Linked DNA regions of Homo sapiens: regions 1 and 3 are each linked to region 2. The links are contacts of gene promoters, found by promoter capture Hi-C in blood cells and fetal thymus (Javierre and others, 2016). All regions are on one chromosome and are shown on one strand. The core of a region is centred on a gene start or on the middle of the fragment in contact, and the rest is flanking DNA. Distances in the headings are between cores, read along the strand shown. Region 1 overlaps TXLNB (taxilin beta). Region 2 holds the start of REPS1 (RALBP1 associated Eps domain containing 1). Region 3 overlaps TXLNB (taxilin beta).

Region 1 (4,473 bases), core at 1,236-3,735, 290 kb before region 2:
AAATAAAAAAATAAAAAAATAAATAAATAAATCACTCAACTAGTTGATGGCAGAGTTGGTTCTGGAACCCAGGTCTCCTATCCTTAATCCAGTGTGAATTTAATAATACTTTCCTTCCTATCCCCTGCATACATGAATTTTACTTCCCTTAAAAGATATCTATAGATGCTCAGGAATTATTTATCTCATGCTTATTTTTAGAAATCATATCCTATTAGAAGAAAAACAAAACTAACAGTGAAATATAAATCTAGGTCTAACATTTGAAAGAGGGACATTCACAGTCTTTTCTGGCTTTAAGTTTCTGCCACAATTCATGGAAATCAGGAAGGTGGTTAGAGAGGTACACAAGTACGTATTTATAATGAAATTTAACCCCAAAGTTCTAAAAAAAAAATTTTGGAAGAGAAAAGGCATACTTTTGTTTTTGAGAGATGGAGTCTCGCTCTGTCCCCCAGGCTGGAGTGGAGTGGCCAATCTCAGCTCACTGCAACCTCTGCCTCTCAGGTTCAAGCGAGTCTCCTGCTCAGTTTCCCAAGTAGCTGGGACTACAGGCGTGCGCCACCACGCCCAGCTAATTTTTGTATTTTTTAGTAGAGACGCGGTTTTACTATGTATTGGCCAGGCTGGTTCTCCCGACCTCTGGTGATTTGAACACATTAAATCTGCATAAGTTGTCACCAAACTTAGTATAAACAATCATTACTATGCTAAAAGTTTCAGAAAAATCCTGGTCCACATTTCTGCAGCTGGCTTAGTTGCCTTTAATTTCAGGTTTTTTGTTTCTTTCTTTCTTTCTTTTTTTTTTTTTTTTTTTTTTTTAGAGAGAGAGTCTTGCTCTGTTGCCAGGCCGGAGTGCAGTGGTACAGTCTCGGCTCACTGCAATTTCTGCCTCCCTGGTTCAAGCGATTCTCCTGCCTCAGCCTCCAGAGTAGCTGGGATTACAGGCATGTGCCACGACACCAGCTAATTTTTGTATTTTTAGAAGAGGCAGGGTTTCACCACGTTGGCCAGGATGGTCTCGATCTCCTGACCTCGTGATCTGCCCGCCTCGGCAAGCATGAGCCACCACGCTCGGCCAGTTTTTTTGTTTCTTTGATGTAAAAATAATTTCTCCACCTTCCAATAAAACTGTGCCAGTGACCACAGCCTTATGCAACAGCGCTGTGTCTGCTACACAGGTGGTTCCACTTTCATGTAGACTTCCTACCACGCTGAGCATTTCGCAGTGTGGTGGCTACATGCCCACATGCCTTCCTAGCTTTCATGAGGAAGAAATGAAGCTTGCTTTGGAAGAACACATTAGGGAGAAGGCAGGTGATTCCTTCCTGATAAAGCGTCCCTGAATAAAGTCAGTTTTTCCTCTTTTGTTTGACACTGTCACCAAATGACCCTATTTCCATGGAGATGTAATGATAGCCTTTTGTAGATGATGAGCAAGTCTCTGTCTACTCCCCTCCTCCATGATTACTTCACATAGCACCCTAGTCCCACAACACCAATGGAAGTTTAAAAACTGAGGTCAGTGATGTTGTAAATTTATGAATTCTGCACATGCCCATCTCCAGTTTCCTGGATTTTTTTTAATTAATCTCCAGTTTTAGTGCTTTTCCTGTGAGACTTACAAATAGAAATTCTGTTTCCTGGATTTTTTGTTGAAGGGAAGAATAATTTTTGAAGGCATATTGATGCACCTGGATGTTAACCTTCTATACAAAATAACACAGTAGAGCAGAAAGAGACCTCAGTGAGTGTGAAGAGTAAAAAACAAAACAAACAAAACCAAAAAGAAACCTCTTCTCACAGTCACAGAAAATAAAACCAAAGGGGAGAAGATACTTAATGTGGGAAGAAAGCAAGAACCTTTGGACTCACTCATTTCTATCTCTCCCAAACAAGACAGGTAATGGTTTCACATGTCGGTACACACACTGAGAGGTATTCCAGGATACATAAAACATCACAGGTGAGAGTAAGACCTGTTTTTCCTCTAGTTGGTCACAAAAAATTGTTTTCATGACAGTGTTTATTTGATTCACATGATACGAGTTTGAGCTAGTTGGCTTTGATTTTTTTATTTGTTCGTTTGTTTTTTGCAGTGGAGTGCAGTGGTGCAATCTCAGCTCACTGCAATCTCTGCCTCCTGGGTTCAAGTGATTCCCCTGCCTCAGCCTCCCGAGTAGCTGGGACTACAGGCATGTACCACCAAGCCTAGCTAAGTTTTTGTATTTTAGTAGAGATGGGGTTTCACCATGTTGGCCAGGATGGTCTTGATCTCCTGACCTCGTGATCCGCCCGCCTTAGCCTCCCAAAGTGTTGGGATTACAGGCGTGAGCCACCGTGCCTGGCCAGCTTTGTTTTATTCTATTATTATCATCATTTACTGAGCACTTGCCATGGGCCAAACACTGTGTTGCATCCTGGGCCAAGAATGATCAAGAGTAGTCTCTTGACTTTAATAGATGACACTCTAACTTGAGATTGTAGTCTTCATGTGGGCACCTTCCCTGGACTGAAGACAAAGGTGAAGGGATGGCCTGACCAATGCAAATCCATCCCTGTCAGTAGAGGGATAACCCAAAGCACATGCCTGGCAGGGGCGAGGCGTCAGTGATTATCAGCTGCAAATGCCACAGGCCATAATTGGAGAGCTGGGAGGGACCCTACTCACACCCACCTTCCCCTGTTTTAGGCTAATCTGAACTGACTCACTAGGCAAAGATAGACAAAACTAACTGTTGGGAATGAGGTCATTTAAAAAAAAAGTTGCCTTCTATTTCTCTAGGTCTCTCTAGCATCAGAATTCCACATGAGAGTGGAGTGACTTAGAACAAGTAGGCTAGCCTTGGATTCAAGCCTTCTCTCTGCCAGCACTAATCATGTAACTTTGGACTTTTCTGGGCCTTAAATACTAAAATGCATAAAATTAACCGGTTAGTCTGGATGCTCTTTGAAATTCCTTCTAGACCTAAAATTCCTTGATTCCATGTAAAGTTGCCAGGTTTAGCAAAGGAAAATACAGGATGTCCAGAAAAATTAGAATTTCAGGTAAACAACGAATCATTTTTTAGTACAAATATGCCCCATGTCCTATATTTCATCTGGCAATCCTAATTTCATGACATATATGCCTCTCCAAGATGAAAGCAAGTACTCTAGCCAAGGGGAAATGTCTGTTCTTGGGGGAAAGGTTGTCAATTTTCTTAAGCAGATTTATGTCAGGAAGTGTGGGCTTTGTTGTGTGGCTTGACCACCCTATTCTGATTAAACAGAGTGGTTTTCATAGATAGGTAGGGATGGGAAAAATGCCCCACCCTTTCATGATTATTTAACAGGGTTAATTTTTTTTTAGTGTAGCATAAACTCCAACTGGAAACAAAATGAAACTGCCAACGGATATTAAGGCCTAGGTGGGGGAAAGGAAGGCCAGAGAAGGCTGTGTCCATTATCACAGAGACAGAAAAAGGCTTGTGGAAAGGCTCTCCATGTCTTTACTTGGTTTTCCTTCTATAATGATTTTATTCTATTTGGTAGGAAACAGGATCAGAGTTATTCCCACTCCAACGCCAGGGAATGGGTTTATGTACAAAAAAGAGAAACTTGGTTCCCCCTAAAAGAGGGAAAAGAAGTACCAAAAGAACAAAAAACACAGGGGAAAAAACGGGCAGGCTACTTCATCAAGCTTCTCTGCTTCTGGCTGGAATCCCAGCAACTCCGTGTTGCTGTTTCATACTAGTCGGAAATTTTGATTGGCTGTTTTGCTTCCTTTTTGTTAATTCAAGTGGGAAAACGGGTGACGTATTCTTTCAGAAAGTATTTTTGATGTATAAAATCTTTTGATTCTGAAGAATACAGGGAGGAGAAATAAGAACGGATTCTTGTGATGAAAACTGGGAGACTTCTGTTATAGCAAACATTTATTGAGAGTCTGCCATGAACCTCACACCGTACCACACATTCACAAACTTCCCAACTAATGTTCACTCTGTAAGGTAGGTGTCATCATTTCTATAGGAAAGAAAATTACATCTGATAAGATGAATGGCTTAGCCAAGGTTGGGAATAATTAGCAAGTGGTCAATCTGAGACTCCAGCCCTTATCACCTGACTGTAAATTCAACACTTATTTTTTTCATGTCTTTTTTTTTTAAGGCAAAGAAGCCAACCTGCTAATGCAAAATCTGAACAAGTTGCAAACACCGGAAGAAAAGTTTGATTTTTTATTCAAGAAGTATGCTGAATTGGTAAGATCTTGGATTAGCTTCTTTTCTCAGAACGATTAGTGAGCCCAGTGCCTCTAGCTTCAAGGAACAACAAACACCTGCCAATCCGAGAATGAATTGTAAACAGCAACATCTGAGGTCTGTGCGCTAACCCTGCAGATTATGAGACCCACAGCTAAGATGTGGCATTCTCTCTAGTAAAGCTAGGCAGTGGCCTTCTCCTTTATTTCTGCTTCTTAAAAAATTCTTT
Region 2 (4,265 bases), core at 1,053-3,552:
TGGGATTACAGGCATAAGCCACCATGCCTGGTGAAGAAATATTTTCTTAATAACAAACTTAACAAAGAAATTAGACAGGCAAGATAGGGTAGTGATTTTTAGAGTTGAGACAGCCTGGAGTTTGAATCCCAGATCCGGGTATTTAATAGCAACATGACTTACACAATACTTAACCCATTTTGCCTCAGTTTCCTAATCTGTCAAAAAAAAAAAAAAACCTAGTAGTACCACTTAATAGGGTTGTTGTGAATAATGTGGTTATTAGTGTAAAGCTTTAGAACAATGCCTGAAACTTAGTAATTATTCAATAATTAGCCGTTAAAAATGTAACAGCTATATATGTAATGTCAGATAGTGAAAAGTGTTATAAAGAAAAAGAATTCAGGTTGGGTGCAGTGGCTCATGCCTGTAATCCCAGCGCTTTGGGAGGCTGAGGTGGGTGAGCCCAAGAGTTTGAGACCAGCCTGGGTAACATGGCAAAACTCTGTCTCTACAAAAGCCACATACACAAAATTTAGGTGGGCATGGTGGCCTGGGCCTGTGGTCCCAGCTACCTGGGAGGCTGAGGTGGGAGAATCACCTGAGCCTGGGAGGTCGAAGCTACAGTGAGCCAAGATTATGCCACTGCACTCCAGCCTGGGTGACAGTGGGAGACTCTGTCTCAAAAGAGAAAAAAAAGGAATTCAGATAAGGGGATAGTGCATGGTGGGATTATTTTACAGCAGCTGTTGCAGGAAGGCTGCTCTGAGGAGGTGACATATGAGCAGGGACCTGAAACCATATGAGAGAATACGCCATGCCATGGTTTGTGGAAGGACTATTTTAGATGGCAGGAACAAAGGCCCTGGGGCCGACAAGAGCTGCAAGGCCTAGGAGAGGTGGCAGAGAAAAAGATGCAAAGACAATTGTGAGCCAATCCCTACCCCATTGTGCTCTTTCTGTTTACACCTTTGGAAGGCAGCTGTCTGGGGGGGGTCTGATCACTTGCTGCAGGTGCCCTGAAAGGACACATGAGGGGCTGCTGTAGCAAACTGAAAGTCTTAGAGATGGGAAATAAGCTTAATGGATAGTATATACTTACCTTTATCAAATACTACTAGTCAAGTCAGAAGACATTGACAGGTCTAAAATCCCTTATCTTTCTTAAAAAATAGAAAGATAATAGAATGCCTGTGACTGTGTACATATTAACATTCTACAAAGACCTGGAGTGAAATGAGTAAATATTGACACTAAGTGGGATCCATAAAGGCTAGAAATAGCTTCATGCAAGCTTAGTTTAGATTTTGCCTCCAAATGAGGCAGGGCAGGTTTTACTTCCAAAGGGTTACAAAAAAAAGTCTTTGGGTTTTCAGTGCGCTTTGAATTTTGCAATTACAGATAAATGACTGGGAACCTGTAATAATTTCCTCATATGTGTCATTTATAGGATCCGCACTCTGGGAAACAACTTGTAGAAGACAAAATAAAAACCAGAACTCTGGGTAATTCTGCCTTAGCTCCCGTCTTTGAAGTATTTTATATTTGCTAAGTATAAATTCTTAAGATATTCTACTTGAAATAGCTGAAGAATCCCCTCTCTGGGACAGGTGCAGATTAAAAGAGCGCCACTCCATGATTTTCATAAAGGAGAAAATACGGAAGGCAGCCCCTGTGGGCAGCCCCGGGCCTACATGAGTTGATAGAGTTGAAGGTATAAATGTAGAGTATTAAGTTCCCAGTGACCGGAATGACCTGGTGAACAAAGAGGACAACTTTGCCAGTTTTCCCCTCTATTCAGCACATTTTGTTTCTCAGGTAAACATGGCTTGAAGCACGAGTGAGATGAAGCCTCAATGTTGGTGTCTACGTGGAGGCTTCCCGGATAGCCAGGATGTTCATAGCCCGGATGTTCATAGCCCTTCAGAACAGATGGAAATACTGCATTTATCTTCATCTGTACCGAAAAGGTACAGATAGAATGATAATAACCTGAACAAGGCTCCCCTTTCAATCCAATTATTCAGACGCTTAGGACCAGAAACTGCGAAACATAAAAACTGCAACCCGGATCTTAGTTATCTCGGTCTTAATGAGCTGCCGGCTGTTTCCCACTGCACCCCCCTTTCCGGGGGTCTTGCTGCTGAGATCTCCGCGCAGAGGGCGGCTCGGTCATCCCGCCGCCGGGCGCCGGCCACCAGGGGGCGCTGCGGCCTCCTCCCTCTCCCGGGAGCGGCCAAGCCAGCCCGGTGGGTGTTTCTCTCTCCCTCTCGCGCTCTCTCCTCCCGGCCTCACATCCGGGTCTGGAGCGCGGCCGCCGCTGTCACTGTTGGTGCGGGCGCGTCGGGGCCGGGCCGGGGCACTGTAAATGGCGGCGGAGGGAGGCGGAGCGGCGGCCACGCTCAGCCCAGATCCCCCGAAACTTTAGGTTCGAAGCCCCACAACTTTCCGGGAAGCGCTGCCGCTCCGGAGGCGTGGACGGAAGGGGAAGCCGAGGCGGGAAGTCTGGGGGAATCGGCAGGGAGCCGGGGAGACTCGAACCCGCGGCGGGGGCGGAGTCCGCCAGTGCCTCGCGCCTCCGCGGCCCCCGCCTCTTTCTCTGCACCCTCCCCGCGGCCGGAGCCGGAGCCGGAGCCGGAGCCGTAGTCGCAGCCGCAGCCGCAGCCGCGCGCCGGGCCTCGCAGGCAGCGGCGCGGCGAGCGCAGCCGGGCCCCCTCCTCGCGACCTCCGGGCCCTGTTGCTCGGGCGCACCTGGCGCGTGTGAGGCCGGGGCCGGCGTTTTCGGGAAGCTAGCAGGAGGCCGGGCCACGCGCAGCCCCTGCCGGCCCAGGTTCCTGGGGCCGGGCCCCGAGTAGTGCATGCGGGGCGGGGCGGCCGTGAGCCGGAGGCGAAGATGGAAGGCTTAACGCTGAGCGATGCGGAGCAGAAATACTATTCAGATCTCTTCTCCTACTGCGACATTGAGAGCACCAAGAAGGTGGTGGTCAACGGGCGGGTGCTGGAGCTGTTCCGGGCCGCGCAGCTGCCGAACGACGTGGTCCTACAGGTAACGTCGCGTCCCGGGGCCGGCGGGCGGCTTAGGCCTGCAGTCACTGGCCTCCAGGAGTGGGAGTGGGCGCCGATTCCTTGGGGCCCGGCGGGGGGCTGGTTCCTCGGGGGGTCCCCGCAGCGGGCAGGGGCCGCAGGTGCCCGGGAGGCCTGGACTCGCGCCGCGGCCAAGGGGGAGGGGGTTGCCCTTAGAGGACGGAACTCCTGTGGTGGGGGTCTGAAGAGCCTCAGCCGGTATCCCCCACGACCCTGAGAATCTGTGCTCTGTACTGCAAGAGCTATCTCACTTGAAGGATCTTAGGTTGTTAATGTGTGTGAATCCTAGAACCTGGCATATAGAGAGCTTTTCGGATCCTGCAGAGTAGTAAAGTTATCAGTATGGGCAAAATGGTTTTTTTAATTCTTGGATTAACCGAGAAGACGTGATAAAGTGAGTTCTATAGATTTAGGAATCGAAGAAGCAGTTTTTTTAAAGGAAGCAAAATTCTTAGGGAAATTTTTTAAAATGTGAACTACTTAGTAGTTTTACAAGTAGGCATACAAGAAGTTGTAATTATCTGTAGAACGTGTGTATGTGATGAGACTGAACAATGTTTTTCAACAGGCATTCGAAAGCATTTGTGGAACTTGTGGATTTGGGTTGGGAGATGAGTATTGAACAGCTGGTAGGCAGAAGTGCGTTATTTGCCCTAATCTGAAGCCCTGGAGGAGCAAACCCTGTAGGTTTAAAGCCTTTTTTTATCATATCTGCTTTTGAAACAGAGGACTTCCTAGAAGTTCTTATCTAATGTATGTGGTGAGCATTAATGCTACTCTGTTTAATGATTCATAGCTGCTAGTAGGAGTCTGTCTAAACAGTATGTTAGGAACAGGTTTTAAGCTTTCATCTTTTATATTGATCCAAGCTAGTTATCCACATCTCCAAAATTTAAAGCCACATGTATAGGTGTATGTAGTGGACTGCAAAGCATTGGACCAGGGTTTTGAAGGCTGGGTCCTTGACCCTACTCTGCTGTTAACCAGCAGTGTGACTTTGGGTCAGGCACTTTCCATTTTCAAGCATAAGTATGTTCATCCACAGAATGAAGGCAAGTTTCTTCCAACAAAAATTCTGTGAAGAATAAAAATGTCCACACACAGGTCTCTGTTTTAGAAGTTAAGTCTGCATTAACTATGACTAAGTTGAACGAGTTCGATCTTTTTAAATGGTCTTGTGTTTTACATTGCTTTTTTAAAGG
Region 3 (4,211 bases), core at 562-3,061, 270 kb before region 2:
TTCAAAAAGAATAACAATCGCAAAGCAATTCTCAATATAGATATGGAGGAAATTGGAGCTCATTGTTAGTGGCTAGCAATGAATGGAGAGTTTTGATTTAGGAGAAAAGAGAACAGAAATGATATAAAAGTTAATTTGCAATTCTTCAATGTTAACAAAGCGGAAGAAGGAAAATTAGATGTTTCACTTTAGAGTTAAAGAAGATTTGAAACTTAATATTGCTTTCAGATTCAAAATTTACATTGAACATTTTAATTACCCTATGTGACACATTTAATGATTGTTCTTTCAAAAACAAAATAATATCCAGCATGTTTGGAAAGATTCCCTTTTATATTCTTGAATGGCTGTAATTGAGCTATGCTGTCTTAGTTTCCTTTTTTAAAGCTTTTTGATGAAAGTTTTTTCTCACAAATAGAAAATTTTTATTGTGATCACTTATATTTACAAAACTTGGTAATATAATTATGTGGTTAATATGCCATGGTTTTTACAGGGAAATATAAGATCTATTGTTCTCCCTTTACCAAACCAGAGAAACACATGATCTGTCTCATCCATCAGTAAACTCAAGTGGCCTTTTTTTCAGGCCACAGCCAAGAGATCAAAATCGTGTGACTGTGTGTTTGTTAGAAATCGCTGCAGTTCATTCACTCAGCAAGAGACGCATCATCTTTAAAACAAGTCTATTCATCACTGACTACAAATTCAAGGCCTTCACAGCACCTGTTCTGAGTAACTATGTACTCACAGCTGAAACCTTTACTCATACATTTATTTTGGGGCTGAGCAGCTTTAGCTCTAGAGAACTGAGAAAAAACATCCCACCTACTCTGCACACTTATCTCCTTTAGGTGACCTAATGCTGAGTTCTATAAACCCGGGGTGCATTTAAACAAAATGTTTTGCTTTTTATCCGCAGGAAGAGGCGCTTCAGCGGGCACGTGAGGAAGAAGAGAAAAGGAAGGAAATCACAAGCCATTTCCAGAGTACCCTCACGGACATCCAGGGCCAGATCGAGCAGCAGAGTGAGCGAAATATGAAGCTCTGTCAGGAGAACACAGAGCTTGCAGAAAAGCTGAAAAGCATCATCGATCAGTATGAGCTCAGAGAGGAGGTGAGAACCACATCAAACAACTTAGAACAGTACATAGATCCGGATCTGGGAGCTAAAGGTGGGAACTTGGTTAATAAGACAGTTACAGCCAGCCCTCTCAACTGATTAATATTTAGGATTGGATTTCCTTGACGAGCCAAAATGAAGACAGATGGTCTTACAAAATACCTGACTGAAAGTCATATGGGATTTCTTCAAAACTGGCATCACTACAAAGTAAAGGCAATAAATAGAAAGTGATAGGCTGTGGGCACAGTTTTCCTTGAAAATAATATTTCTCAGCCTTTTAAAAATCCTCTCTCTATAGCCAAAAATAACTCACGCACTCCCTCTTAAGAATTGCCATGTCATCTAAATTAAGAGTCTGTATTCTGGCCAGGCGCGGTGGCTCACGCCTGTAATCCCAGCACTTTGGGAGGCCAAGGCAGGTGGATTAAGAGGTCAGGAGTTCGAGAGCAGCCTGGCCAACATAGTGAAATCCCGTCTCTACTACAAATACAAAAAAAAATTAGCCAGGCGTGGTGGTGGGCGCCTGTAATCCCAGCTACTCGAGAGGCTGAGGCAGGAGAATCTCTTGAACCCAGGAGGTGGAGGTTGCAGTGAGCTGAGATCACGCCACTGCACTCCAGCCCAGGCGACAGTGTGAGACTCCGTCTCAAAAAAAAAAAAAAAAAAAAGAGTCTGTATTCTATGTACCCTACCAGGCCAATAATAGTATTAATAATGTAATCATTGTAATAATAATGATATCATTTATTCAGTGGTTAGTTTGTATCAGGCAATGTGCTAAGTGCTGTACTTTACATACCATATGGCATTTAATTGTCTCAACAATCTTATGCATTAGATAATAATATATTATCCATATCTTATAGATGAGAAGCAGAAGCTAAGAGATTAAACCACTTACCCACAGTCACAAGAGGCAAAAGCCTTTTACTTTGAATAGGTTATATTAGGGGGATGATCAAGGTCTTTTGTTATACCCAAATTATATTTTAATATTTAATATATTTTTAAGATTCCAGATACCCTCTCAGGATTTTGACACATCATATTCCTTTCCCTATCCCACCCAAATTTTAAATCTCTGCTTTAAAATGTAACATAACATAGTCAAAGCGGCTCTGTTGGTAACATGCTAAGATTTTATCAAGCACAAAACTGAGCCAACAGCATATGGTCGCGGTGGTTAGGTAAATCAAGAAACTCCTAATAGTAAGCCAAAATGCCATGCTACCATTTTATCTTGTCATAAGGATCAATCCCGCTCCAGAATGGAGGTTCAGACTAAAGAAGATAGGAAGGAGTGAAAGGAAAATGTCCATATTCTTCAGAGAGATCTCAGATGGGAATGGGCTGCTATGCTAGTTGTATATTCCTGGGACTGGTTCTAAGTAAAGCCCAAGGGGAGAATTCCATGTCCTGTTTCTGATTGGACCTCCCAGTGACCAGGAATTTATCCATCCTGAGGTAGAGTTGGAAGTTTCTCTTGACCAAACTAGTCCAGAGGTCAAAAGGTGTGGCGAGCTCTGCACATTTGCGACTCAATTTCTCTATGACCCTTGGCCTTGTCATCTCCACCAGAGCAACAGAGTAGAATTCAGGGGGGCTCAGGCCTCACTCCCAGACCTCGGACCACATGCTGGCACCCCAAGGCTTTCTCACAACGCCAGAGGCAAGAATGCAGAGAATTCATCATGATAAATTGCACAAGTGTTGCAATTAAAAGTGGTTTTATATTCACAGAAAGAGCCAAAATACCAAATGATACAACTGTAGCCCCTGTATATTGTATACTGATACATCATTGTCTGTGCTGTCTAGCATAATAAATAGCATCATATCTAATAGTTACCAAACGTAGAAAAATATTGTATGGATCTTTTGGCATTGACACTGCTGAACTCTGGTGCCTCTACCTTTTATAGCTAGCTTTGTGTGTGTGGTGCAAAGTCAGGGGGAGGGGTTCACCAATTTACAGCTTTATTATAAAGCTGTAAGTGATGCCAATGCATTTATCCCTCTCTTCTTTTAAATCTTAAAACCTGGGGAATGTGTATTAATGTGAATTATTTTACTTTGCATTTTTAAGCACCAATAATAAACCAAGCTTTCTATGTACACTTTATTTTTCTTAGCATCTGGACAAAATATTTAAACACAGAGAACTGCAGCAGAAGCTGGTGGATGCAAAGCTTGAGCAGGCCCAAGAAATGATGAAGGAAGCGGAGGAGCGACACAAACGAGAAAAGGAATATGTATTTATCATTTTAGTCGTTGTGCATATCTGGTCTACCTCAGTGTCAGAGACACTCTGAGCAAGTTGTTTTGTATTTATTTATTTATTTATTTATTTGAGACAGAGTCTCGTTCTGTCATTCAGGCTGAAATGCAGTGGCGTGATCTCAGCTCACTGCAACCTCAGCCTCCAGGATTCCAGCGATTCTCCTGCCTCCCCAAGTAGCTGGGATTACAGGTGCCCACTACCACAACAGGCTACTTGTTTTGTATTTTTAGTAGAGACAGGGTTTCACCATGTTGGCCAGGCTGGTCTTGAACTCCTGACCTCAGGTGATCCGCCTTCCTCGGCCTCCCAAAGTGCTGGGATTACAGGTGTGAACCATCGCGCCTGGACGCAAGTTGTTTTTATAATGGTCAAAGAGCACTAGACTGATGGAGAAAGAGCCCCAGCTTCTATGGAGAACTAAATTAGCCAGCCCAGTCTGAGGCACTATGTCTACACTACTTTCTACATAAAATAGTCATTCATCTATTCCACACATATTTTTCAAGTGCCTGTTATCTACTAAGCACCGTGTTAGGTGCGGGGACATAGCCGTGAACAAGACAGAGAAGGGGCATCTCCCACTATGGAGATTAGAGTCTAACTGGAAAGAGACAAGCAATAGACAAGCAAACAGGGAAGGGTCATTTCAGACAATAATCACCACTACTAAGGAAGTAAGGAGAAACTGAGAAGGGGCCAAAGAAGGGGACGTACTTTAGATTGAGTGACCAGGAAGGCCTCCTGGAGGGGCGAATGCTTGAGCTAAGCCCTGCCAGATGAGGAGCTGCTACTTGGAGCATCGTC

The links. Contacts are between HindIII fragments. The CHiCAGO score rates a contact against its expected background, and 5 or more counts as called.
Region 1: a contact is called between a fragment that was not itself captured here and the fragment with the promoter of REPS1 in region 2, in 5 of 17 cell types (non-activated CD4 T cells, activated CD4 T cells, total B cells and 2 more). The highest score is 6.4, in non-activated CD4 T cells.
Region 3: a contact is called between a fragment that was not itself captured here and the fragment with the promoter of REPS1 in region 2, in 1 of 17 cell types (total CD8 T cells). The highest score is 5.3, in total CD8 T cells.

Annotation. Positions count from the first base shown.
Region 1 is chr6:139,276,601-139,281,073 of GRCh38, reverse strand. It overlaps TXLNB (taxilin beta), which reads left to right. Exons shown (of 10, transcript NM_153235.4): 3 at 4,153-4,244. The region is part of intron 2 of LOC102723690 (a long non-coding RNA gene); the gene reads right to left. Among named protein-coding and RNA genes, the nearest start is that of TXLNB, 13 kb to the left of the region's middle. The HindIII fragment of the contact is 2,399 bases long and covers 1,286-3,684 here.
Region 2 is chr6:138,986,290-138,990,554 of GRCh38, reverse strand. REPS1 (RALBP1 associated Eps domain containing 1) reads left to right here and starts at 2,302. Exons shown (of 20, transcript NM_001286611.2): 1 at 2,302-3,025. The coding sequence starts at 2,873. RefSeq lists silencers at 2,071-2,310, 2,501-2,800. The HindIII fragment of the contact is 2,634 bases long and covers 1,276-3,909 here.
Region 3 is chr6:139,259,485-139,263,695 of GRCh38, reverse strand. It overlaps TXLNB (taxilin beta), which reads left to right. Exons shown (of 10, transcript NM_153235.4): 5 at 923-1,117; 6 at 3,259-3,378. Among named protein-coding and RNA genes, the nearest start is that of TXLNB, 30 kb to the left of the region's middle. RefSeq lists an enhancer at 289-1,488. The HindIII fragment of the contact is 2,843 bases long and covers 390-3,232 here.